7 separate regions of the Homo sapiens genome follow, and all the other regions are linked to region 1. The links are contacts of gene promoters, found by promoter capture Hi-C in blood cells and fetal thymus (Javierre and others, 2016). All regions are on one chromosome and are shown on one strand. The core of a region is centred on a gene start or on the middle of the fragment in contact, and the rest is flanking DNA. Distances in the headings are between cores, read along the strand shown.

Evidence for each region. The method cuts DNA at HindIII sites, captures the fragments that hold promoters and counts their contacts. A CHiCAGO score of 5 or more calls a contact.
Region 2: a fragment that was not itself captured here is called in contact with the fragment with the promoter of MSL3 in region 1 in 1 of 17 cell types (non-activated CD4 T cells); the score reaches 6.7 in non-activated CD4 T cells.
Region 3: a contact is called between a fragment that was not itself captured here and the fragment with the promoter of MSL3 in region 1, in 1 of 17 cell types (activated CD4 T cells). The highest score is 6.1, in activated CD4 T cells.
Region 4: a contact is called between a fragment that was not itself captured here and the fragment with the promoter of MSL3 in region 1, in 1 of 17 cell types (non-activated CD4 T cells). The highest score is 8.6, in non-activated CD4 T cells.
Region 5: a contact is called between a fragment that was not itself captured here and the fragment with the promoter of MSL3 in region 1, in 2 of 17 cell types (non-activated CD4 T cells and activated CD4 T cells). The highest score is 8.6, in non-activated CD4 T cells.
Region 6: a fragment that was not itself captured here is called in contact with the fragment with the promoter of MSL3 in region 1 in 1 of 17 cell types (monocytes); the score reaches 5.4 in monocytes.
Region 7: a fragment that was not itself captured here is called in contact with the fragment with the promoter of MSL3 in region 1 in 2 of 17 cell types (neutrophils and monocytes); the score reaches 13.9 in neutrophils.

Annotation. Positions count from the first base shown.
Region 1 is chrX:11,756,276-11,759,486 of GRCh38, reverse strand. MSL3 (MSL complex subunit 3) reads right to left here and starts at 1,250. Exons shown (of 13, transcript NM_078629.4): 1 at 1,122-1,250. The coding sequence starts at 1,223. MSL3-DT (MSL3 divergent transcript) reads left to right here and starts at 1,404. Exons shown (of 2, transcript XR_007068393.1): 1 at 1,404-2,735. RefSeq lists an enhancer at 803-1,097 and silencers at 951-1,330, 1,341-1,490, 1,511-1,710. The HindIII fragment of the contact is 7,532 bases long and covers 1-3,211 here.
Region 2 is chrX:13,735,378-13,738,588 of GRCh38, reverse strand. OFD1 (OFD1 centriole and centriolar satellite protein) reads right to left here. Exons shown (of 23, transcript NM_003611.3): 3 at 1,911-2,111. Among named protein-coding and RNA genes, the nearest start is that of OFD1, 2.2 kb to the right of the region's middle. RefSeq lists an enhancer at 2,928-3,211. The HindIII fragment of the contact is 741 bases long and covers 1,591-2,331 here.
Region 3 is chrX:10,006,506-10,009,716 of GRCh38, reverse strand. No RefSeq gene overlaps it. Among named protein-coding and RNA genes, the nearest start is that of WWC3, 7.1 kb to the left of the region's middle. The HindIII fragment of the contact is 6,322 bases long and covers 1-3,211 here.
Region 4 is chrX:10,072,991-10,076,201 of GRCh38, reverse strand. The region is part of intron 4 of WWC3 (WWC family member 3); the gene reads right to left. Among named protein-coding and RNA genes, the nearest start is that of WWC3, 59 kb to the right of the region's middle. The HindIII fragment of the contact is 1,590 bases long and covers 719-2,308 here.
Region 5 is chrX:10,092,474-10,095,684 of GRCh38, reverse strand. It overlaps WWC3 (WWC family member 3), which reads right to left. Exons shown (of 24, transcript NM_015691.5): 8 at 1,404-1,553. Among named protein-coding and RNA genes, the nearest start is that of CLCN4, 63 kb to the left of the region's middle. The HindIII fragment of the contact is 2,141 bases long and covers 627-2,767 here.
Region 6 is chrX:10,166,198-10,169,408 of GRCh38, reverse strand. The region is part of intron 2 of CLCN4 (chloride voltage-gated channel 4); the gene reads right to left. Among named protein-coding and RNA genes, the nearest start is that of CLCN4, 11 kb to the right of the region's middle. The HindIII fragment of the contact is 478 bases long and covers 1,520-1,997 here.
Region 7 is chrX:10,186,749-10,189,959 of GRCh38, reverse strand. CLCN4 (chloride voltage-gated channel 4) reads right to left here. Exons shown (of 13, transcript NM_001830.4): 4 at 2,346-2,445. Among named protein-coding and RNA genes, the nearest start is that of CLCN4, 31 kb to the right of the region's middle. RefSeq lists a silencer at 80-209. The HindIII fragment of the contact is 3,850 bases long and covers 1-3,211 here.

The DNA.
Region 1 (3,211 bases), core at 1-2,500:
AGAGCTCTGGGAGTTGTAGTCTCCTGGGCTCCCCTATGTCCAGTGCCAGGATGGCTAGCTGGAGACTCTGGAATCCCTCCCTGTTGTGTCCCTAGAGGGAACAACTAAAACTAATGATGGGGCGTGCCCCCCCCCCTCCGCCCCGAGGAGGCTGGAGGGCGAGGAGAAAGAGGGATAGCAGACGCGGTTAAAAGACAGGAGCAGCAGGGGAGGGAACTGAAGGCAGAATATGCTCATCCCTTTAGGGATGTCCTTTAGCATCTCTAATGGACAGAGCTGTCCAGACATCGCCAAAGACACACCTGGGACTGCCCCTGTCCCTGCCGCCTAAGGCTTCGCCCAGGTGGCCCTAGGAACCCAGGTCTCTGAAATGAAAGCACCTGGGTGCTTTCCTTGGGGATCTGGGAGACCTGGTGCCAACTCCTGCCCGCCACCCAAATCTGAGGAGCTGCAAGATGTGGCTCAGCTCCCGGAGACTTAGGTGGACCGGCCCGGGGCGCGATTCCCATCAACTATGGTCAGACCCACGTAAATCCTTCAGAGTTTGAAAACGTAAATGCTGCAAGGCCCTGGGGTACGAAAACACTGGGCCAACCTTGCCCTCGGGATGGGGTTCACGGCCTACAGGCGGGATGGGGCCTAAACTGGACTAGGGTCCCAGGGACACAACGTCGCAAGTCAGCGGCCAGCGCCGTGTAACTATGAATTAGAACCTGGATCGGACGGCCAGGGCGTCCCACAGGAGCCCACCCGGCACCAGGCCGCACAGAAGGAGACATTTAACGCGAAGACAGAAACCGTATTCGAGAAGCCTCCTCCCTCAGCGGCCACCGTTGCAGTCGGGGGCGCAAACGGTAGCCCCGGTAACGCGACAAAGCATGGGCGAGGCTCCCAACCGCGCGTGCGCCGCCCGGCCTGACGGAAGGAAGTGGAAGCATCCCAGACCCCGCCCCGACTCCCGGGCGTAGCGCCCTGTGAGCGCCCCCTGCCGGCCGCACCGCTCCTCGCAGGCCGAGGAGCCCGGCCGGTCCCTCAGCTCCGCGCGGCCGTCCGCCCCCGCCCCCGCCCCCGGTCCCGGGTCCCCCAGCCCGCGCCTCCTCCCTGTCCCTCCGCGGCGGCACCTTGGCATCGTACAGCACTCGCGCCTTGGTGGGGTCAGGCTCGAAGCACAGCACTTTCTCCCCTGAGTGGAATTTAAATTTCATGCCCTCGCTCGCGCTCATTTGCTCATCGTGGCGGAGGGCGAGGCTCCGGGGCGGGCGGAGCGCGCGCGGTGGGGGAGGGCGGGCGGGGGCGGGGAGGCGGTGCGCCGTGGCCGGGGGGGGCCGGGAATGGCGGAGGCTGCGGCCGCCCCGCCCTCGGCCCCTCCTCCGCCCGCCCCGAGCCGCTGCCGGGACCTCGGAGGCGCCTGGCGCGCGCGCTCCCGCCCGGGCGCGTCCCCGCACGTCCCCGCCGGGGCTCCGGGAGGGGTGCGGGCGGGGAGCGCGACCCCCTGGCCAAGGTCTACCGGCAGGACGTCTCCCGTCGCCCCCATGGGAGAGGGTCCCCGCGGCCTCCAGGCTGCGCCCACGTGCGCGCAGGGTCGTCCGTCGCCCCGAGCGCCCGCTCTCCGGCCCGGGCGTGGGAGGCGCCTAGGGAGAGAGAGAGCCGGTCTGGAGTAGGCACCCGGCGGCCGGGAGGCTGGACGGCGTCTGCCCCCAAGAGCTCCCTGGCCGTGCGCGCCGCGTCAGCCCCCTTGGCAGAGCAGCGCGCCGATGAGTGTGGCCACGCTTGGAGAACGCAGCGCTGGAGCTGGCCCCAGGCGGGCAGTGGCCTCGGGCGAGGGCAGAAGGGCACTCCGGGCTGTGAATAGAACACTTGCTTATCCCTTCAGAGGACAAGCCGGTGGCAGGCCTGGAGCCCCCAGTGACGGGTTGAGCAGTGGGCAGCGAGGCAGATGGGTCCTTAAAGAGTAGCTGACGTCTTCAGTGTCAGCTTCTAGCGTGGCCTGACAGCCCCCAGCATCCCCGGAATGCCCCCCACGGTCTATCTGCTCCAATAGACTAAAAATTCCCTAAATAGAAGCACCCTTGAGGCCGCTATCAATATGGTACCTGCACAGAGTGGATGTTAAGTAAATACTTGATGAGCGAATGACAAGTGATGGGAGACTTGAAGGACAAACTTCCAGGGACAGGAAGGACAGTGCTGGGCTTTTTCTTTTGAGTTTTGGAAAGCCGTTGGGCAGTGTAATTACTGGATTAGGACCGGGCTGGAGACCAGCTTCCAGGCTAATCTCTGCGGACCTGGTGAACTTCCCCTTCTCTGTTCTAGCCTCCAGAAAGTTGCATTTGCTTCCCCTCTGCACGCTTCCTTCACCAGGTTCCTGGTATACATCCTTCACATTTCAGCGTGGGCATGCCAACAGAAAAGCCCTCAGGCTTCCCAAGATGAATCATAAAGCCCTGAGGTGTTCCCTCCCAGGACTCTGCTTAACCCCTTTCTTGCATGTACCACTGTGCTATAGAATGGGTTGTTCATTTGCAAAATGACCTCATTAAGACAGTAAGCTCTTTGAAGCTGGGGGTAGGGGTCTTATCCAATTCATCACGGCGTATTCGTGGCACATAATATGGAATGAATGAACAGATTGATTTAGGAAATAGAACCCACAAAACTCAGTGGCCAATTGGATGTGAAGGAGAGGGAAGGAGGAATCTTGAGAGACTTCCAGGTTTTCTGGCCCAAGGAATTGGGTGAGTAATAGCTGCATCCGCCAGAATAAGGCTATACAGAGGAGTTAAAGGTTGGGGGAAGATGGTCAAATGGCCTTTGGGGTAATACGGTGCAGAAACTAGAACTGGAACCATGATTCCTCTCCAGGTTGTGGTGTATCAGAGATGAGAACAGTAGATGGTGGTGTTCCCCACAAATGGCAGGGGCGGCTTGGAAGCACATGTAATTGCACGTCCTGTGTAAACCGTAACTGAAGTATTCACCTTTTTATTTTTCCTGCCCATGATTGGAGAGAGTTCTGCTGCAGGCTCTACCCTTTCAGGGATAGGATTTTAGATGCTTTCCTTTGTTTCTCCGCATTTCCACCCCTTCTTATGTCATTGAGGAATTCCTCTTTCCCCGTCCCTCTAAAAAGTCCAAGAATGCAAAAGCCTTCAGGAACCTAAAAGTTAAAAAGCCTGCCAATGGCAGCACCCCTTACAGTCCTCCTCCAGAT
Region 2 (3,211 bases), core at 712-3,211, 2.0 Mb before region 1:
AATGTTTAATGCCTTACAGATGACACTGAAATATCTGATGAACCAATGACTACATGACTGAGTTCCTGGGTCATTCAATTACAATTTTTTAAAAAGTATTCATTGTTTAAAAATGTAAATAGATTTTTACTGTCCTTAAAACCGTAATTAAAGTGTACTTAAAATATTGTTTAACAGACATTTTGGGTAGCTATTAAAATATATTTCTACTACAGTATATACCATTCACTATGTCTGCTCTGAGAACACTGATATTTGTTTTCAATTGGTTTTCCTTTAAAGTAAATATTCTGCATGGGCATTTTACATTAGTAGAAACCGTTAAGTTGTATGAATAGGATTAATTCCTGCTATATAATTGTATTATTGACTATTACACAATAAGTAAAAGTATAAAGTGATTAGAAAGTTAGAGAATGATGTATCAAAAATGAATTCCAGGCCAGACACGAGGGCTCATGCTTGTTATCCCAGCTCTTTGGGAGATTGAGGTGGGCAGATCACCTGGGGTCAGGATTCGAGACCAGCCTGGCCAACATGGTGAAACCTCCTCTCTACTAAAAATAAAAAAGTTAGCCAGGTGTAGTGGTGGGCACCTGTAATCCCAGCTACTTGGGAGGCTGAGGCAGGAGAATTGCTTGAACACAGGAGGCAGAGGTTGCAGTGAGCCAAGACTGCGCCATTGCACTCCAGACTGGGTAACAGAGCAAGACTCTGTCTCAAAAACATAAATTAATAAATAAATTCCTAATGCTGACAAATAAAATTTGGTTGCTTATGAAGAAATGCAAATTATTTAAGTTTTCATTCAAATACTGTACTAAGCTTGTGTCACTAAAACTTTGGAATATGAAACTTTTGGATAATTACAGAAAACACAAAGAAAGTAAAAACATATGAACACCACCAAGAGTGAAATTTATTTTATTTTTGAGACAGTCTCGCTCTGTCACCCAGGCTGGAGTGCAGTGGCATGATCTCGGCTCACTGCAACCTTCACTGTAAACTATGGCCTCTGGGTGATAATGACATGTCAGGGTAGGCTTATAGATTGTAGCAAATGTACCACCTTGATGCAAGATGTTGACAGTGGGGGAGGCTATGAGTGTGTAGGGGCAGCAGGTATATGGGAATTCTCTGTACTTCCCACTTAACTTTGCTGTGAACCCAAAACTGCTCTGAAAAAATAAAGTCTATTAAAAAAAAAAAAACACGCACATATCCACAGGGAAAGTCTGCTGTATCTGCCTTTAAAATAATAAAGTAGTACTAATGTTCAACAGTAATGGTGAAGAAATATAGTTAAAATAATTAGAAAAGTAGTAAAAAAAAAAAACAAGTGTTTTTAATATTTGAGAACTTTACAGATTTTTTAAATTACGTATTTCTCACTTATCTAATTACAAAGAGAAACATCTGAAGAAACTAGTGCAGGAAAAAAAGAGCTCATGTTAGAGATCTAGATTTACCACCCTGCATTGTCACTTAAAAGTTACTTGATGTTGGGCAAATTGATTCACCTCTCCAGAGTCTGGTTCCTCATCCGTAACACACAAAACATCTGCAGTGTGCCTATCACAGTGCCAAGCTTACAGCAGACATTCAGCAGATTGGCAGAGTCTTATTAGACAAGATAGAGGATAGATAGATCAATTATAGGTCTGAAACATTTAGAGATTCTATACATCACTGTTTTATGTGAGACTAAATGAGACGCCAAGAAATTAATTTCAAATTTAGTACCCACTTGTTATATAACAAATATATTATGTGCAGGTACAATGTGAATTCAAAGAGGAAACAGAAATGGACCTAGTCGAGGAGCACTTAGCTATCATACAGCACTTTACTGTCAGCAGAGGAAGAACCTGTTAATAAAAACTTCAGAAACAGAAAAGGAAAGACTTTACCTTTTCTTTTGCCAAACCACTTTCTGGAAAGAAAACAGAAAGTGAATATTCATAGCCACATCTTTGTAAGTGATCTGCCACTAAAGAGTTAGAGGCGCCTATTAAGAGGGAGCTCCCTTCTACTGAAATGGACCGAGGCTGCAGTTCTCCACTCAATACAGGGTGCATCAACTCATGAATTAGCTGGTTTCGAAGTTGTGTCTAGCATAAAATAAAAACAAAAATAAAAAAGAAACACAAGGGAAAGAAATTTCAGCAGGACTGTTTCATTAGAGATATACACAGATGAGCTACATTCATTGGAAACCTTCCTTCTATTTCCATAATGGTTCTAGATCCATGGCCAGAAGTTAGAAACCTTCCCCTGCACACTTTGTCTTACCCCGTGAGACAAGCAGTCCAGTGGGTTCTAGAAAAAGCTTTCTTTCCCCAGCTTCCAAATGAAACGGGTGGTTAGCCAGATCCACTTGCAGACTCATAACTTCACTTCCCTAGAAGCCCATTTCAGCAGCTTACGATTGGGATATTAAGTATAGGAAAAAATTCTGCCACTTCATCACACCTCTGTGGACTGTTGGAGAATATAACCAAAATATTCAACAACAGGGGACTGCTATATACATTACAAAAATATCCAAAGATAAGCCTGTTGCCACTGAAAATGAAGATTTCAAAAAACTTTTAAGGAAACAGGGAAATGCTCACCATATAATTTAAATTAAAAAAGGATACATACACAGGATATAGCTACATATTTTAAACGTAAAATATGCTTTTGAAATGCATATTTCAATGAAAACACGTTGAGCTAATCCTACTCCTGGCTGTTAATCCAAATATAAAGCATACTAATAGGTATTTTCTGCCCAAACTAAACATTCATACATTTCAATATAGTTTAAAGATAAAATTTTTCATTTCCCAAACTATTATTAAGCAGTACACTAGTATTTTCTATATGGTGTCAATGTCCTTCATCCAAATGTATTACAAACCCACTTATTAATTTAGGAACCTATAAGCCATATTTATAAAACAAGCCTAATCTTACTGTGTTCATTATACAAATATTTCCTTCTCCTATCTTATTGTCAGTTCAATTAATTATTTGAATATGCTCCTTTAAGACGACTCAAACTCAACATTTTCTCAAACATTTTCAAGAGACTGTAATGTTTCAGGATACAGAGTTATTCGGGAATATAAAAATGTAATTCACCAATACAATCTATGTATCATACGATTATTAAAACCTAAACCTTGATTGAATTTGAACTACCTGTTACAGGTTACACTTGTAA
Region 3 (3,211 bases), core at 515-3,014, 1.8 Mb after region 1:
AGGGGACATTTGGCAATGCCTGGAGACATGTTTGCTTGGCACAACTGGGAGACTGGGGTTCCTGGCATTTAGTGGGTAAGGCCAGAGATGCTGGCACACATCCTGCAGTGCCCACAACAGCCCAGCACCAGAGAATGATCTGCCCCAAATGACACCAGTGCTGAGGTCAAAAAAACCCTATGAGATATGTATAATGTATTGTTATTATTTTTTTGAGACAGGGCCTCACTCTGTTATCCAGGCTGGAGTGCAGTGCTGCGATCACGGCTCTCTGCAGCCTCCAACTCCCAGGCTCAAGTGATTCTCCCACCTCAGTCTCCTGAGTAGCTGGGACTACGGGCATGCACCACCACACCCGGTTTATATATATATTTGTAGAAAAGGAGTCTCACTATGTTGCCCAGGCTTGTCTCAAACTCCTGGGCTCAAATGTGTAATTTATGAGAACATTTATACTGCCCAAACTTTATAGTGGGAAAACAAGGCTCAGAGAATGTAAGTAACTAGCCTGGTATGACCTGGCCAGTGCTAAAATGCATCAGCCCTAAGACTAAAGCCCAGCTATCCCATCTGACCTCCTGTATTCATCAGGGATGTATAGACAAATAGCTCCAATATATATATATCCAAACTCTCTCTCTCTCTCTCTCTCTCTCTCTCACACACACACACACACACACAGAGAGAGAGAGAGAGAGAGAGAGAGAAAGAGGCAGACAGAGAGAGATATTTATCATAAAGAATTGGCTCATGGAATTATGGAGGCTGACAAATCCCAGGATCTGCAGTTGGCAAGCTGGAGAGCTGATGATGGCACAGTTCCAGTCCAAGTCTGACAACCTGAAAACCAGGAGAGCTGATGGTGTCAGTTCCAGTCTGAAAGTGAGCAGGCTTGAGATCCAAGAGGAGCCAATGTTTCAGTTTGAGTCCAGAGGCAGGAAAAGCCCAACATTCCAGCTCAAGCAGTCACACAGCAAGAGCACCCTCCTACCCAGCCTTTGTGGTCCAGCCAGGCCTTCAACTGATTGGGCAAGGCCCACCGACACTGAGAAGGCAGTCTACAATTCAAATGTGGATGTCATCCAGAAACACCCTTACACACACACAACCAGAGTAATGTTTGACCAAATATCTGGGCACCCCGTGGCCCAGTGGCCCAGTCAAGTTGACACATGAAATTAACCATCACACCTCCTGACTTTATAACTAGTTGTTCTTTGTTTCTATGACTCTTTCTTTCTTTCTCTCTCTTTTTTTTTTCAGGTAGTGTCTCACTTTGTCACCTAGGCTGGAGTGCAGTGACGCAAACATGGCTCACTGCAGCCTCAATCTCCCGGGCTCAAGCAATCCTCCCCGCTCAGCTTCCAGAGTAGCTGAGACCACAGGCACAAGCCACCATGCTCGGCTAATATTCTAACTTTTTGTAGAAATGGGGTCTCACTATGTTGCCCAGGCTGGTCTCAAACTCCTGGACTCAAGAGATCTGCCCACCTTGGCCTCCCAATGTGCTGGGATTCCAGGCGTGAGCCACTGCACCTGGCCTGTTTCTAGGACTCTTTCTGCTCACAGTGTGGCTCGTGGACCAGCAGCGGCAGCATCACGGGGGAACTCATTGAAATGTCCACCCCAGGGCTGTTAGTTTAAGAAGCATCATATTACACCCCATGGAAGAGGATGGTGTGGGGGTGTAGGCATCTACAAAAACTTACTTTACAATATCGATTCACAGAGCCATCTGGGTAGTATTTGCCTTACTTCACCTCATAATCAAGAGGGGTTTATTTATCATTTAAGAGGTGCCAAGCCCTATGGCAATCCCTGAGCAAAGTGTAATCACAAGCCACTTTCACACTTGCTCTGCATGATAAGCACATTGAAGAGCCTGGATCTGTTTGTGACTCAGCTTTAGGCTTGCACAGTAATATACAGTTCAACTTCCCTGGCCCAGAAGTAGAAATGGAGAAGAAGCCAGCTGCAGGCCAACCACACTGTAACAGAGCTTGATTTTTGCCTTAGCTTACTATGCGTCTCCCCTGCCTGATGTCCCAACCCAGGGTCAGCTACATAGTTTGTGCTCTACGTTTTGCAGTGCAAAATGAAAACGCAGGACCCCTTGTTCCAAAAAAAAAAAAATCTCAAGAATTTCCAGATGGTAACAGTGGACCACTACAATAAGCACAAGCCCTTTGGAGCACAGTACCCTGTACAATTGCACAGGCAGCAGCCTTTGAAGCCGGCTCTGTCCATACCTTTCACTTCTAGTCAGGTGACCTTTGAAAATTCCAAAGAAACAACAATTTTCAGTGACAGCAGAGGAGATTGTTTTTGAGAATGGGACTCTGTCCCTGCAAATCAAACTACTTGCTGCCCAAGCCTTCTCTGCCAGCCCAGGTACTTCCCCGAGGTCAGCATGACCCCGTTGGCAGGAAGAACCTCCACTGCTCTTGACTCTCTTGGGTCCCTGGTGCTGGGGGTTGAATTGTGCTCCCCCACCCAAAAAAAGGATACGCTGAGGGCCTAGCCCTGGGTACATGTGGATGTGGCTTTATTTGGAAATGGGGTATTTGTAGATGCAGTTACTTAAGATGAGGTCATACTGGAGTAGGGTGGGCCTTTAATCTAATATGACTGGTGTCATATCATAAGGGAGGGCAGAAGGAACGCAGACACCAGGGTCATGTAAAAATGGAGGCAGAGATTGGAGTAATGAGGCCACAAGGCAACGAATGCCAAGGATTTCTGGCAAGCACCAGAAGCTGGGAGAGAGGCATGGAACAGATTCTACCCTGGAGCCTTCGGAGAGAGAGTGGCCCTGCCTCACACCTGCATTCCAGGCTTCTGGCCTCCAGAACTGTGAGAGAATCCATTTGTGTAGGTTTAAGCCATCAGTTTGTGGTCCTTTGTTACAGTGGCGCTAGGAAACTAACATGCCTGGAACCTTGCCCCCAGGCTCCTGCTGCTGCTTCAGTAGGGAACAGAGTCTATAGAACTCTGTTCACAGGGTCCCAATCAGTGCTGGGAAATCACAGGAAACAGAAGCCTGCCATGAAAGCCCCCAGAGATCCCACCAAACCCAGGAGCCCCAGGCATGACATGCTGGACCTCTCAAGTACATGCCGTAAACTGTAGCAGCCATATCCAGTGTAGACCAGAGGCAAACCACAAATGCCCACATTGGCCATGAGTTGCCCAAAGTTCAGATTTACCTTGG
Region 4 (3,211 bases), core at 264-2,763, 1.7 Mb after region 1:
CTGCAGCTGAAACCATCATAAGTGACAGAATACCTTTTAATTATGTGGATCCCATTCATGTTACTTTTGCTATGGTCTCTATAAAATTATAAAATTCCAGGACTGGGATAAGGGAAAAGTCTACTCAAGTAACTAACACAGTGAATACATTTTATCTTCAAATACTAAGGATGGTTGTGAACACTGGCATAACTTTTAATAATGTAATTAAATTTATAAATAAAATTCTCAGTTCCTCAGATCTGCCAATAAGACTACTAGAACCATTTACAGAGTCCAAGAACAGATCAGGACTCCAGACCTCATAATAGCGTGTACTACACAACACTTCTTTTCTTTTGGAGACAGGGTCTCACTCTGTCACCCAAACCAGAGCACAGTGGTGTGATCTCAGCTCACTGCAAACTCCACCTCCTGGGTTCAAGCGATCCTCCTGCCTCAGCCTCCCAAGTAGCTGGGATTACAGGCGCCGCCACCACACCCGGCTAATTTTTTGTATTTTTAGTAGAGATGGGGTTTTGCCACGTTGGCCAGACTGGTCTGGAACTCCAGACCTCAAGTGATCCACCTGCCTCAGCCTCCCAAAGTGCTGGGATTACAGGAGTGAGCCACCGTGCCCGGCCTTCCACAACATTTATAAACGGAGTATCTTCCTCTATTAAGACATGTCTCCAATCTCGAGGTTTATGCTAAAGACCAGACTTTCACCTCTGAAGCTTTCTTCTCTCTTGAAGAGTTAAGTGGGCAGAGCTATTAAATAGCATATGGAGTCTGCTCAGGCATACAACATTGCCTCAGATAATATAATAACAAGGTTATAGCCTAGCTGGACCACAGCAATGTAAATTATTATACCTTGCTATTACAGGGTGCCTTTCACATTTATTTAATCTATTCTCATAAAATCTTTGTGAAGGTGAAATGATACTTATGTGTCCTTGCCCATTTTATAGATTAAAAGACTGAGTCTGTAGTGACTTGATCTATAATACATTATGCCATCATTCATAGAGGGCTTCATGTCTAGAATCTGGGCTCCGGTGGGTCAGCTGCCAAAGATCCTTTAATTGGGCTAGCTTTCCCAGAAGAAGAAACGGTCCTCCAGCTCCCCAGTGCCCACCACCCAACAGGTGAACTTGACCTGTGTATTTAGGACTCAAAATGCTGCAAACCCCAGTACTTAACTCTGGATTTCAGTTTGACAGATTACTGAAAGGGGAAATGTGTGTGTCCATGAGTCTGTTTGTCTTTGTCTCTCTTATGTACAGGCGTCTTCTGAGCTATGGGTACCTAAGGTCACCCCAGAGACAAGACATGCTTTAAAAGACCAGCAGTCCTTCTTCAAAGACATCCTCTGGAGCAGGTTGCTCCTTAGGACCAGGTGTAGGCCTCCAGGGATCAGCACTGTCAGGAGTTGCTCAAGGGAGCCAAGAATGACTCTGGGCAAAAGGCCGACAAGCCCTGACAGGTTCCAGGTTGACAGGTACTATCTACCAGAGAGGCACATGGAGAAATACGCAAGGCCAACAAAGCGGGCAGGATGGGTTTTTTTTAAGGCAATATAAGCAAAAGACCAAAAACAATCAAGTAAGGCCACCTGGGGGTGATCTACAGAAGTAACCCAAGAAGCCACCAAATCCTAACCAGGAATTCTCCCTCCAGGACAGACTAGGGGATTATTTCTCAGGAAACACATGTGCTTTGCTGCAACCTCCAAAATCTGGCTTGCTGACTAATACATGGGAAAAATGCTCCATGATCCTTTTTTCTCCTGCCTGCTCCAACATGCGTGTGTGAAGGAAAACAAAAGGTTGAATTGGAATGGATTGCCTGTAGCCCTGTTCCTAACCAAAGACAGCAAATGAGAAATCCTTCAACAGCGAGAGCCCCAATGAGGCCGGGTGCGGTGGCTCATATCTGTAATCCCAGCACTTTGGGAGGTAGAGGCGGGCAGATCTCTTGAGTCCAGGAGTCTGAGACCAGCCTGGGCAACATGGCAAAACCCCATCTCTACAAAAAGTACCAAAATTAGCTAGGTATGGTGGCGCACATCTGGAGTTTCAGCTACTCAAGAGGCTGAGGTAGGAGAATCGCCTGAGCCCGGGAGGTTGAGGCTGCAGTGAGCCAAGATCACACTACCACACTCCAGCCTGGGCAACAGAGCAAGATCCTGTCTCAACAACAACAACAACAAAAAAACAAAAAAACAAAAAAAAAAAAACAGAGCACCAATGGAAGAGTCATTGTGAGACAGGCTTGGAGCCTCAGAAGGAATGCTGGCAAGGCTGATGGCTGATAAGGTCAAGCTTCACCACCACCTAATCCAAGAACTCAGGGTGGATCAGCACTTTCTCACCAGAGATAACGCTGCCTCTTTCCTAGCCACCCAGAAAGACTTTCAATGTAGACTTTGAGTAACTCCTAGGAACTAGGATAATAAACAAAGTCATATTCCTGCTGCTACAAGGGCCATTCACACTCTGTCTAGCCCAGTGGATTTCAACCCTGGGGATCACCTGGGAAGCTTAAAAAAAAAAGCCTGGTCCCACCCAAGGCCAGTTCTATCAAAATCTCTTGGGGTGAGGTCCAAGCAGCAAGTTTTTAAAGATTCTAGCTTGCAGCCAGGTCTGAGAACTATGGGTATAGACCAGGAATTAGCAAACTTTTTCTCTAATGGGCCAGACCCTAAATATTTTTGACTTTGTGGGCCATACAATCTGTCTCAAATACTCAATTCTGCCACTGTAGCTGCTACAGACAATAGGTTACTAAATGGACATGGCTGTGTTCCAATAAAACTTTATTTACAAACACCCACAGTGGATAGGATCCAGCCCACAGGCTTGACATAGTTTGCAGACCTGAGGTTTAGACTATTATCCTACCCCATGCAAGAATTTCTTCCAAAAGATCCTGCAAATGGTCATATATAGTTCATCTGAATGTGCCTGGGGCTAGAGTTTCTCAGGAAGAATAAAGGAATAACTCCAGGAAAAAATGTGTCTGAGATAATGAACGTATTCAGTGTTAAAAGGCAGGCAAATAGAAGAACATGTTGCAATAAAGAAAGTAGAAGAAAACTCTACAAAATGGAGCTGTAGAAAAAGTAGCAGGTGTGTCTCAGAGAGAATGAGTCCATTGTTGAGCAGTTTCACCCCAGTGTTCTACGAAGCATAAATGAGGCCTGGGCATCACCAGGCAGCTAGCACAG
Region 5 (3,211 bases), core at 448-2,947, 1.7 Mb after region 1:
AGCATAACCAGCCACCACTCCTCACCTGACATTTTTAGAAGGGTTGACCTAAATCACTGGAGAACCTTCTATCTTAACTGTTTCTCTCAAACTAAATTCTAATTCTAACCTTACAATAAGCAGCAATGAATTATTCACGAATTCAATGAGTCTTACACTTGTTTCCTTCTCTCGCTCCAAAATCTTTACGCAAAAATGCCAAACATTTTTGAATTACAGATTCTCCTCTGTGTGTTACAGATGGCGACCATATTCTTTCATCCAAAGAAGATGCCTAGTCAAAAACGGCCAAGTGTACGTTTGGAACAACGCAGGCAAATTTGAAAATAGGACTGTTCCAGGACACCCAAGACATAAAGGGCCGTGATTTCCTACATTATACTCCACTCGAAGAGGCACTAGTTGCTAAGATTTCAAAATATTAATTAGCTAATTATTTAAAACCCAGAGTTTTCCATCAATTGTTTTTTCCTCCTTTTGTTGCTTTCCTTTTATTTATTTAATTTCGGGGGAGGGGTGGCACTGTGCATTCCATTGATACCTCATCTTTACTTAATAATCCTTAAAAAAAAAAAAAGAAGCTCTTTAAACTGTTTTTCCATTTGGTAACAAATTAATGTCAAGCTTCACTCAATGATATTACAATACTAGCGTCTTTGAATATCCACCATCCTGCTTCAAATGGTGATTTTCCCAACTTTGTTTTTGTGGCTAACTCAAGGCTTCGCTAATTAACAAAGGAGGCATTATGACATTCTTCCAAGTCTCAAACAAAAATGACTTTTAGTTCAATTCAATTTCCTGACATTCTTTTAGAAGAGTAAGAAACAGCAATAAAGTAACACCCAAGGTGGCACAGCTATAAAGCCTTTGGAAATCAGTGGTCTAAGGCAGGAATCAGTAACTATGGCCCTGGGGCCAAATCCAGCCCACTGGCTGTTCCGTAAGTGAACGTTTGAGCAGCTCGAGGCCCCAGTCTTACATGCTTGCAAGGCATCTCTGTTATGGCTGCATGTACACTACAATGACAGGGTGGGGCAGTTCCAGCAGAACTACCTGCAAAGCCTAAAATAGTGACTATATTTACTATCTGGCCCTTCACAGAAAAAGCGTGGGGACTCATGCTCTAAAAAGTGATATGTCTGTCAAAAGAACAGTGAAACTCAACTCTCACAAGGAGTATGTCATTTATAAGAGTCCAAATCATAAGGGCAGCAGTAATAAGCAATTCAATTGTATCACACAGCTGGATGTGAGACACAACACTTTTTCTTCAAACTTAATGGCACAAAAGTGAAGGCATTTCTTAAGTGAACATGGAAAATTACACCAAACCAGTGATGGCAACACTGAAGCAGCCCTCCCCTCTCCCGGTGCATTTCTCCCCCTGGGCGCGCATATACCTCCCCGATGATATCAGTCTGGGAGCCGGCATCGCAGAACTGCTGGGGTACACCAGCATCGCCAGGCACGCCTACATGGTGAGGGAAGTCCACTAGAGAGTCGGTAACGGAGCAGCTGTTCTTGAAGCTATCGGTCAGCTTGGCCAGGCTCTGGAACACAATGAGACAAGCTCTTTGAACGGAGATGGTGATGTGTCTCTTCCCTCCAGAAGTGGTTCTCTCATTTGTTTTAGGTCTGCTGCATTATTTATTACTGAACAGTTGCCCCACCTCACCCCCATGCTCGTTAGATTTCACATAAATGCCCTTCATCACAGGCACCTCTAATAAAATTCTTAGTCATTTAAATCACATCGCAACTAAGTCCCCCTGGCAGCATGTGAATAAAATAGAGGACAATTATGGTACCATTTTTACTGGTTCTTAAACCTTCATGTTTCCTAAAGAAAAAAATAAGTATTTCTATCGAAAATGTAAATGAGCCTGACAGAGATGAATGCTGCCTTGAGATTGTTACAGAGGAAAAACAGGGAAGGGGAAAACAGCTCCCAGACAATGCTTACGTATTTCTTTTTCAGTTCTTTGAGTTGCTGTTTTAGCTTACGTATTTTTATAAACCTCATTTCTCAGTCATAATTCTACATGGTCAAAAGTAATCTCATATGTATGTTGGTTTGCCAAAAATTAGAGTTAGTATGCATTCTGGCACATGAAATCTCTCTGTGTGGCAGTTTTAAGCAGAAATCAGAATTCTGATTTTTTTTTTTTTTTTTTTTTTTTTTGAGAGAGGGTCTCACTCTATCACTCAGGCTGGAGTGCAGTGGCACAATCATAGCTCACCGTAGCCTCGACCTCCTTGGCTCAGGTGATCCTCCGACCTCAGCTTCCTGAGTACTTGGGACTACAGGTATGCCACCACACCCAGCTAAACTTTTGTTTGTTTGTTTGTTTTTGTAGAGACCAGGTCTCACTATGTTGCCTGGGCTTTTCTCAAAGTTCTGGGCTCAAGCTATCCTCCTGCCTCAGCCCCCCAAAGTGCTGAGATTATAAGCATGAGCCACTGCACCCAGCCAGAAATCAGATTTTTGACCATTTCTTTTAGACTTCTGAATATATTCACTTTCAGCAAATTTTACTACAGACACCAGAACCAAAAATGCCCAAGTGCAGTAGAACTCACAAAACTGGCTTGAGATTGAGATAAGGCCTTCTTGGGAGGGGCCAATATTGTTAAGTTCACATAAGAAAGGCAAAACAACTTATTTAACCTGGATAGAAGAGGACTCTGCCTGTGCCTCTTCCTGGAGCTTCTCAGAGTTTGAGAGGCTATGGAGACGTCAAAGAAGGTGCTCGAGCCTGAAGCTTCTTCCAGAAATTCTATCTGTTGCCTCCACGGTGGGAATTCAAGCAAGGCAAATGAGTGGCTGGCCCTGGTGCTGCACACGGTGGCCTCAGAGAGGCCGGGGCAGGCAGCCCTGCTTGGCCTCATGGCGTAAAGCCTCTGTGTCTCCACCATGGAACACCACATGGTTCAGCCTGCGGTATTGACGATGGGTAACAAACATGGGGCATCTTGTTTGATGTCAGCTGAGCAGAGACCTCAATAAATGGTAGCTGTTCTCAGTGCTACCTGTGTGCCAAAAAAAAAAAAAATCTAACAATTAACCATTTACTTATCACAACCTGGAGAGGTCATCTGAAAATAGATTCCTAGGCCCTACCTCCAGAGATTCTAATTCAGTGAGTCTAGGGTGGGGCCTGGTAATCTGCATCTTAACAAGCACCATGAGGACTCTCCGCAAGTCCCT
Region 6 (3,211 bases), core at 509-3,008, 1.6 Mb after region 1:
CATTCGACACAGAATCAATGGAGCCTGAGGGAGTGGACTCTGGACCCATAACAGAGGCTAAAAGCACCACAAGCTGACGGTTTCTTATCAGCCCAACAAGACAAATCCTTCACTGTTTTTATCCAAGTGGAGGAGGTGACAGCTTGAGAGGGAAACTGCCTTAAAAATCCCTTTAAGCTCTCTCAAGAAGTTTCTCGGAAATAAATGTAGATACACTGACCAGAACATTCAATATAGGAAATCTTGTTTACACAAAGATTTAAACTATTAGACTATATAATCCTATAGATAGAAGAAGCTCAACAAACCCCAAGCACACACAAAAAAATGAAGAAAACTACACCAAGGCATAGCATAATCGAACTGTTAAACAAGTGAAAAAGAAGATCTCTTAAAAGCAGTGACAGAAAAGAGACACTTTACATACAAAGAAAGCTATTAGGCTATACAGGGCTATGAGGAGGAAAGAGGTACCACTCCATCCCATAATAAGAATGAAGCTCACAAGCCTAATGTCAAGTAAAAGAAAGACACAAAGAAAAGCAGACACAAAGGGATCCGAGATTCCATCCCTATAAAGTTCCAAACAAGCAGAAGGAACCAGTGGCGTTATTCAGGATAGCAGTTACCCTTGGAAGGGGACATGAGGGTGGCTTCTGGGAACTGGTCATGTTCCATTTCTGGATCTGGGCACTGTTACCCAGGTGTGTTCACCTTGTGACAATTCATCAAGCTGCACGCTTACCTTTTGTGCACTTTTCTGCACATGGATTTCAATTAAAAGTTGACCAAAGGCAACCCAAACAAGCCATCAGCTGGAGTTAAATCTCACTGCTTCACTTTACAAAAGTGAGGTTTTTCATTGGCATGCTTGCAACACTTCTTTGAAGTGCCCGTGAAATACTTTCTCTTTTCAAACACCCATTGCATCCTCTCTTGCAAAAATGACCTCCCACTGAAATAATTGAGGTCAGAAGTCTGAAAGCCCTGACAAAGCAAAGGCGCTGGAGTTGGCAAATCCCCTGTGCAGCGGGCAGAGGACACGGGCTCCACATTGCATTACAGGCTGTGGCGTGTTTCCCTGGTGCTGGAGGAAAAGGGGGCTGCTCGCATCAAAAATGACATCCCGCATCTGCAAAGGCCGAATGCCCAAAGTAACGCCCAGACAGCCAAACCCCACTGGCATTTGGGGAATATTTTACTGAAGCCTCCAGGCTATAAAGAGATACACAGGATATACATTTTCATGAAATACAGACCGTTGCCCATTTACTAAAAATCTATATATCCAAACTCATCCTCAATATGCCCTAATTTATCATCAATAGACCTAAACTTTGCATGAAGCTCCTCTCCTCTCCAACCTAGGAAGGAAAGAGAGAGAAAATACCATGAACAAATATGGAACGATCAGAGAAAAGTGGAGCTTCAGAAGGGGCAAAACGAAGGCAGCTATGGCCAGAGCCTGGGGAGCTGACCCAAGGAGAGACCAGCACTGGGCCTCCCCTCCAAGAAAGCTTTGGACCATTACTAGTCATTTCAGTTATCTGAAGCTGCATCACTAATTACCATTTACACTGACCATTCACACGGTTTCTATGTGTCAGGAAGTGGGGAGCAGTGTGGCTGGGTCTTTCTGGCTCAGCGTCTCTCAGGAGGTTGTGGTCAGGATGTCAGCCAGGGCTGCTGTCATCTGAAAGTTGGACGGGGGCTCCCTCACATAGCAACCAACTTGCTCGCTGGCATCCCCACAGGATACCCTGAATGTCCCCACGACATGGCAGTTGGCTTTCTCTAGAGGGGGTGGTCCAAGAGAACCAGGAGGGTCTCTAATGACCTAGCTTTGGAAGTCACACACTGTCGCTTCCACGGTATCCTATTGGTGACACAGGTCAGCCCTGAATGGTTCCATATGGGAGGGGACCACACATGAGCATGAACACCTGGAGGTAGGATGGTCGAGGCCCATCTTGGAGGCTGGCTCCAATACAAAAGCTTTTCACTGCCTTATTCCACCTTGCCTGAAACCCCAGGAATTTCATTTTCATTTGTAATCATTTTGAGTCTTGCTTTTAAAATGCGGGCACCTTTAGGATGATGAGGTGGCCAGGACTCATTCCACCCCTTCTAGCTAACCCTCCAAACACCAGAGGGGAGAAGACAGGAAGGCACTGACAGTGACGGGAGCCAGGTGGTGGCCCCCAGTGAGGGGTGGAGGGCCACACGACCAAGGAGTTTCAAACAGGGGGAAGCTCAGAGCAAAAGGATGTTCAGAAAGAAACTGTGCCTGTTTCAAAATTCTGCCTCGAACCAGCGGAGACACTTCCTTTTTCCTCCTCCCACTTCCTCCCCGGCCCCGGCCCTGCCCCCAGCACTCCCTGTGTTCCTTCAATCACAGTCTGGCTTCCATAGGACTAGGCAGCTGTTGTGTGACCATGGCAGGCTTCCTATGGACCCAGGGCCATGCAGCCATTCGTTCCACGTTGAAACCCAGCCCACGTGTTGGAAATAGGATGAGGCCAACCACATGTGGCCTCGGGTGACACAATGGCCTCAGTGTTCTCACACCCCCATCCCAGGGACAGGAGGGCTGGGCTGTGAGGTGTTTGTGTTGCTGGTGCCAAGAGCCAAGGGTTTGGAATTTCCCCAGAGACTTCTTCCCATAATAATAGTCACAACGCCTTTGTACAGGGCTCCGTGTACCTGGCTTCATTCTAAGCACTTCCCCCGTGTATGAAGTACCGCCTCCCTCAGGCCCACGTTACAGATAAGTTACAGATAAGCAAACTGCGGCACAGAGGTTAAGTCTCACACACAGTGAGGGGGCAGCTGGATCCAGCCCAGGTCCCAGGGGCCTTTCTCCACAACAGCAGGCAGGCCTCTGCCACCTCAGGACCCAGAGCCATGTGCCTCCATGGAGAGGGCACTGGGGGCCACGTTTCTCCTACACCGTGTGAGAATAGCTTAATTAAAGGCCCCTGGGTCGCGCTCTCATGCATCCACAAAAAAATGCTGCTGCACGTGCTTGCTAGGGCTGCCGTAACCAAGCACCACGGACTGGGTGGCTCAGATAACAGAAAAGGGTTTTCTCCCAGTTCCGGAGGCCAGAAGTCTGAGATGAAGGGACGCGCGCTGCTGATGCCTTCGTTTCACCATGATGACCTCTGTCAAGGCCCTATCTCCAAATAAGGTCACGTCTTGAAGTACTGAA
Region 7 (3,211 bases), core at 495-2,994, 1.6 Mb after region 1:
GAGGGTCCTGCAGATATCCAGGGGCAAACAGGATGATCACCCCAAGTTTCATCATTATTCATTCATTCACAACCCCCCTACTGCACACCCAATCTTCCTTGCTGATTCTGGTTCTGACTGCGCTTCAGCAGGCCTCAGCTTTCTTTCGTGGTCCAACAGTGACACCTAGCGGTGACTTCTGATAAGCACATGCGGAGATGCTGTGGGCCTACCCATGAGGGGAGTCCGAAGACAACAGCCACTGAGGGGACAGCCGGCCAGGCAGTGAGACCCCAGGTCCTCTCCACTGTTAGTCCAGCGAGGAAGGGGGAAGTGAGTGGGACGTGGCTCTCTGGCTGTCCCTTCAAAGTGCATCCAAATCAAAAGAACACTGTAGTCCCTTCATTTTCAGCATCACCCCATTCTCACCCTCCCATGTATTCCCCTGCTGACGTGCGCATGGGCTCTCCTTTGGCCAGTGGTGCTCACCCCTGGCTGCACATTACAATCACAGAGGGGAGGGGCAGGCTGTATTCAAGCTAGAGGTCCTCTCCAGAGATACTGTTTAAGTGAAGCCAGGGCAGCAGCATATTGTTTTTAATTCCCCCTCGTGAAAGAGCTGATGGAAATCAAGTGGATAATAAAGCCAGCTGGTCAAAATCAGATTAAAGTCAGCCCAGTTGGGCTCCTAGGTCAGTCAATGAATCTAAGCTGTGCCGTTATCAGAACATCTATTCCTGTTCTGAGTTTCTTCATTTACCCTATTTATTTCTCCTTCCTACGAGCCAAGAAAAATGACACACTATAAGGTTTTATCAATCTACTCTAAATAAGGACATCAAAATTCATAGCAAACTCCCACCTGGCCCACCTTCAAAGGCCTTTATAGAAGCAGTCAAGCAAAATTGGTCGTCCAATCCCTTGTGACAATGAAGTCTAATTTCCTGCCCTGGCTGCTGCCAGTACATGACGGGAAATGCCACTGGTAAAGGAAGGACAGGCTTGGAGAAACGGACAGACAGCATCTGTGACTAGTAGGAAAGAACTCCCCCTCTGAGCATTCCTCTTAGCTCTTTACGGAATGCTGAGGCAGGTGAGGGAGGTAGAGCCCTTCCCTGGCAACCAAGCCCCTCCTCCGATGAGCTAGGGAATAAATCAAGATCACCTGGAAACTGAAAGCCCCTGGAATCACAAAACTCTATCTGTGCCCCATTTGTGTTCTGTCCTTCTTAGACCACTTACTACATATATTCTGCCTGTGTTCTAGTCAATTCCCTGATCTGTTCTCTAACCATAACTATTATGTTGTTATATGCAGGGGATTTTTATTAAGGAAACCTCTTCGTCATGCCAAATTTTTTATTCTTAGACATTAACCTTCACAATCTCCTAAAAGGACATAAGTTTCAGGAAACTATTTCCCGGAAGGGCTGGTGCGTTTGATATTAAAAAGACGTGTTTCCCCTCCAGATAGCATCCATTTACTCTGGAAACATCTACTGCTCGCAAACACGGTGTTGGGATTCTAAAAAGGAAAGATGCAGAGTTCCTGAGGGTCAGGATGATGGAGGCCCCTGGGCCTGCCTCAGCTCCCGTGGGTGTCTAGCATGGTGCTGACTGTTGCAGGATGTTTCCAGTTCATCCCAGAGCCTACCAGTAGTAGCAAAAGGCAATCTCATATGACATTTTGTTATTGAAGATAAAACAGTCCCTGATTTTGTTGTCATCTACATAATCAAGAATAACCGAATATAAAATGTGTGCTTGGCTGGGCTCAGTGGCTCACACCTGTAATCCCAACACTTTGGCTGAGGCAGGAGGATGGCTTGAGCCCAGGAGTTTGAGACCAGCCTGAGCAACACAGTGAGACCCCATCTCTATGAAAAAATAACAAAAATTAGCTGAGCATGGTGGCGCATGCCTGTGGTCCTGGCTACTCAGGAGGCTGAGGTGGGAGGATTGTTCAACCCCGGGAGGTGGAGGCTGCAGTGAACTGGCATCATTCCACTGCCCTCCAGCCTGGGCAATGGAACAAGACCGTTTCCAAAAAAAATGTGTGTTTTCAGTCAAATCCGGTATAGTAAGAAAACTCTGCTCTGTGTGGAAAGGCTACCAGCTCTATCGTCACAGCTCTTCAGAAGCCTGTGCCTGAGCTCATGCCTTGGGCATGCCTTATTGATGATGGATTTTAGGTTAAATATACAGCCATGCATTTTGCCCTTAGATATTTCAAGTAATAAATCCCTCCCACAGGGGTAAAAGCGACAAGCGACACGCGCTATATTCCAAATCTCCCAGAGGGTTCGTGTTTTGAGGTTTCGGCCTCTGCAGCTTCCCACGGGAGTGCCGCATGCCCATCCACGTACCCGCCAGCAGGCCGATGAGCAGCATCACCACCCATCCCGACCAGGCATCCAGCAGGCTCTTGATGAACTCCCATATGGACTCCTTGCTCTTGCTGGTGATCTAGAACAAAGCAGATACAGCAACTGATCCGAATGCATTTTCGAATTCATGCTTTTTTCCTTGAAACTGTTTCCTCGGGAAACAGGGTAATTAAGAAAATAAAATGAATGTCATCAAGCAGCTAAATTCCCACTGATGTGATTCTTTCAGTTATGTGCCGCAACGGTACGACGAGCTTTCTAGTTCACAGAGCTATAAAGATGCCACAAAAGTCTCCAAAGAATTCGAGCACACACTCAAATAATTCACTTAATTAAAAAACATACTAAATGTGATTTGATCTTTGATGATTTAAAAGCTATGCTGAAGGGGGACATTGGTTCGGTGTCTCCATTCTGAATATGAGTTACTATCTTAACTTACATTGCTAAGTTTCATTAAAAAGCCTCTTCACACAGACTTCATCTCCTCCTTTTGTTTTCAAGGTTAAATTTTAGCAGCACGAACTTAGAATTAGCTGGCACAGATCACGTCTCCCACAGCAGATGGACTACCTACACACACCTCCCTGTGCTAACAGAATCCTATGCTCCTCTGAGATCATCATTCCCTCACGGCCTTTTAGAGCAGTGGTGGGCAAATGTTTTCTGTAAAGGACCAGAGAGTAAATATTTTGGGCTTTGCGGGCCGGATGGTCTCCGTTGCAACTCCTCAACCCTGCCACTGTAGCACAAAAGGAGTCATAAAAATATGGAAATGGATGGGCATGGCTGAGTTCCAATAAAACTTTATTTCTAAAACAAGGTGCCAGCTGGCTTTGGCCCGC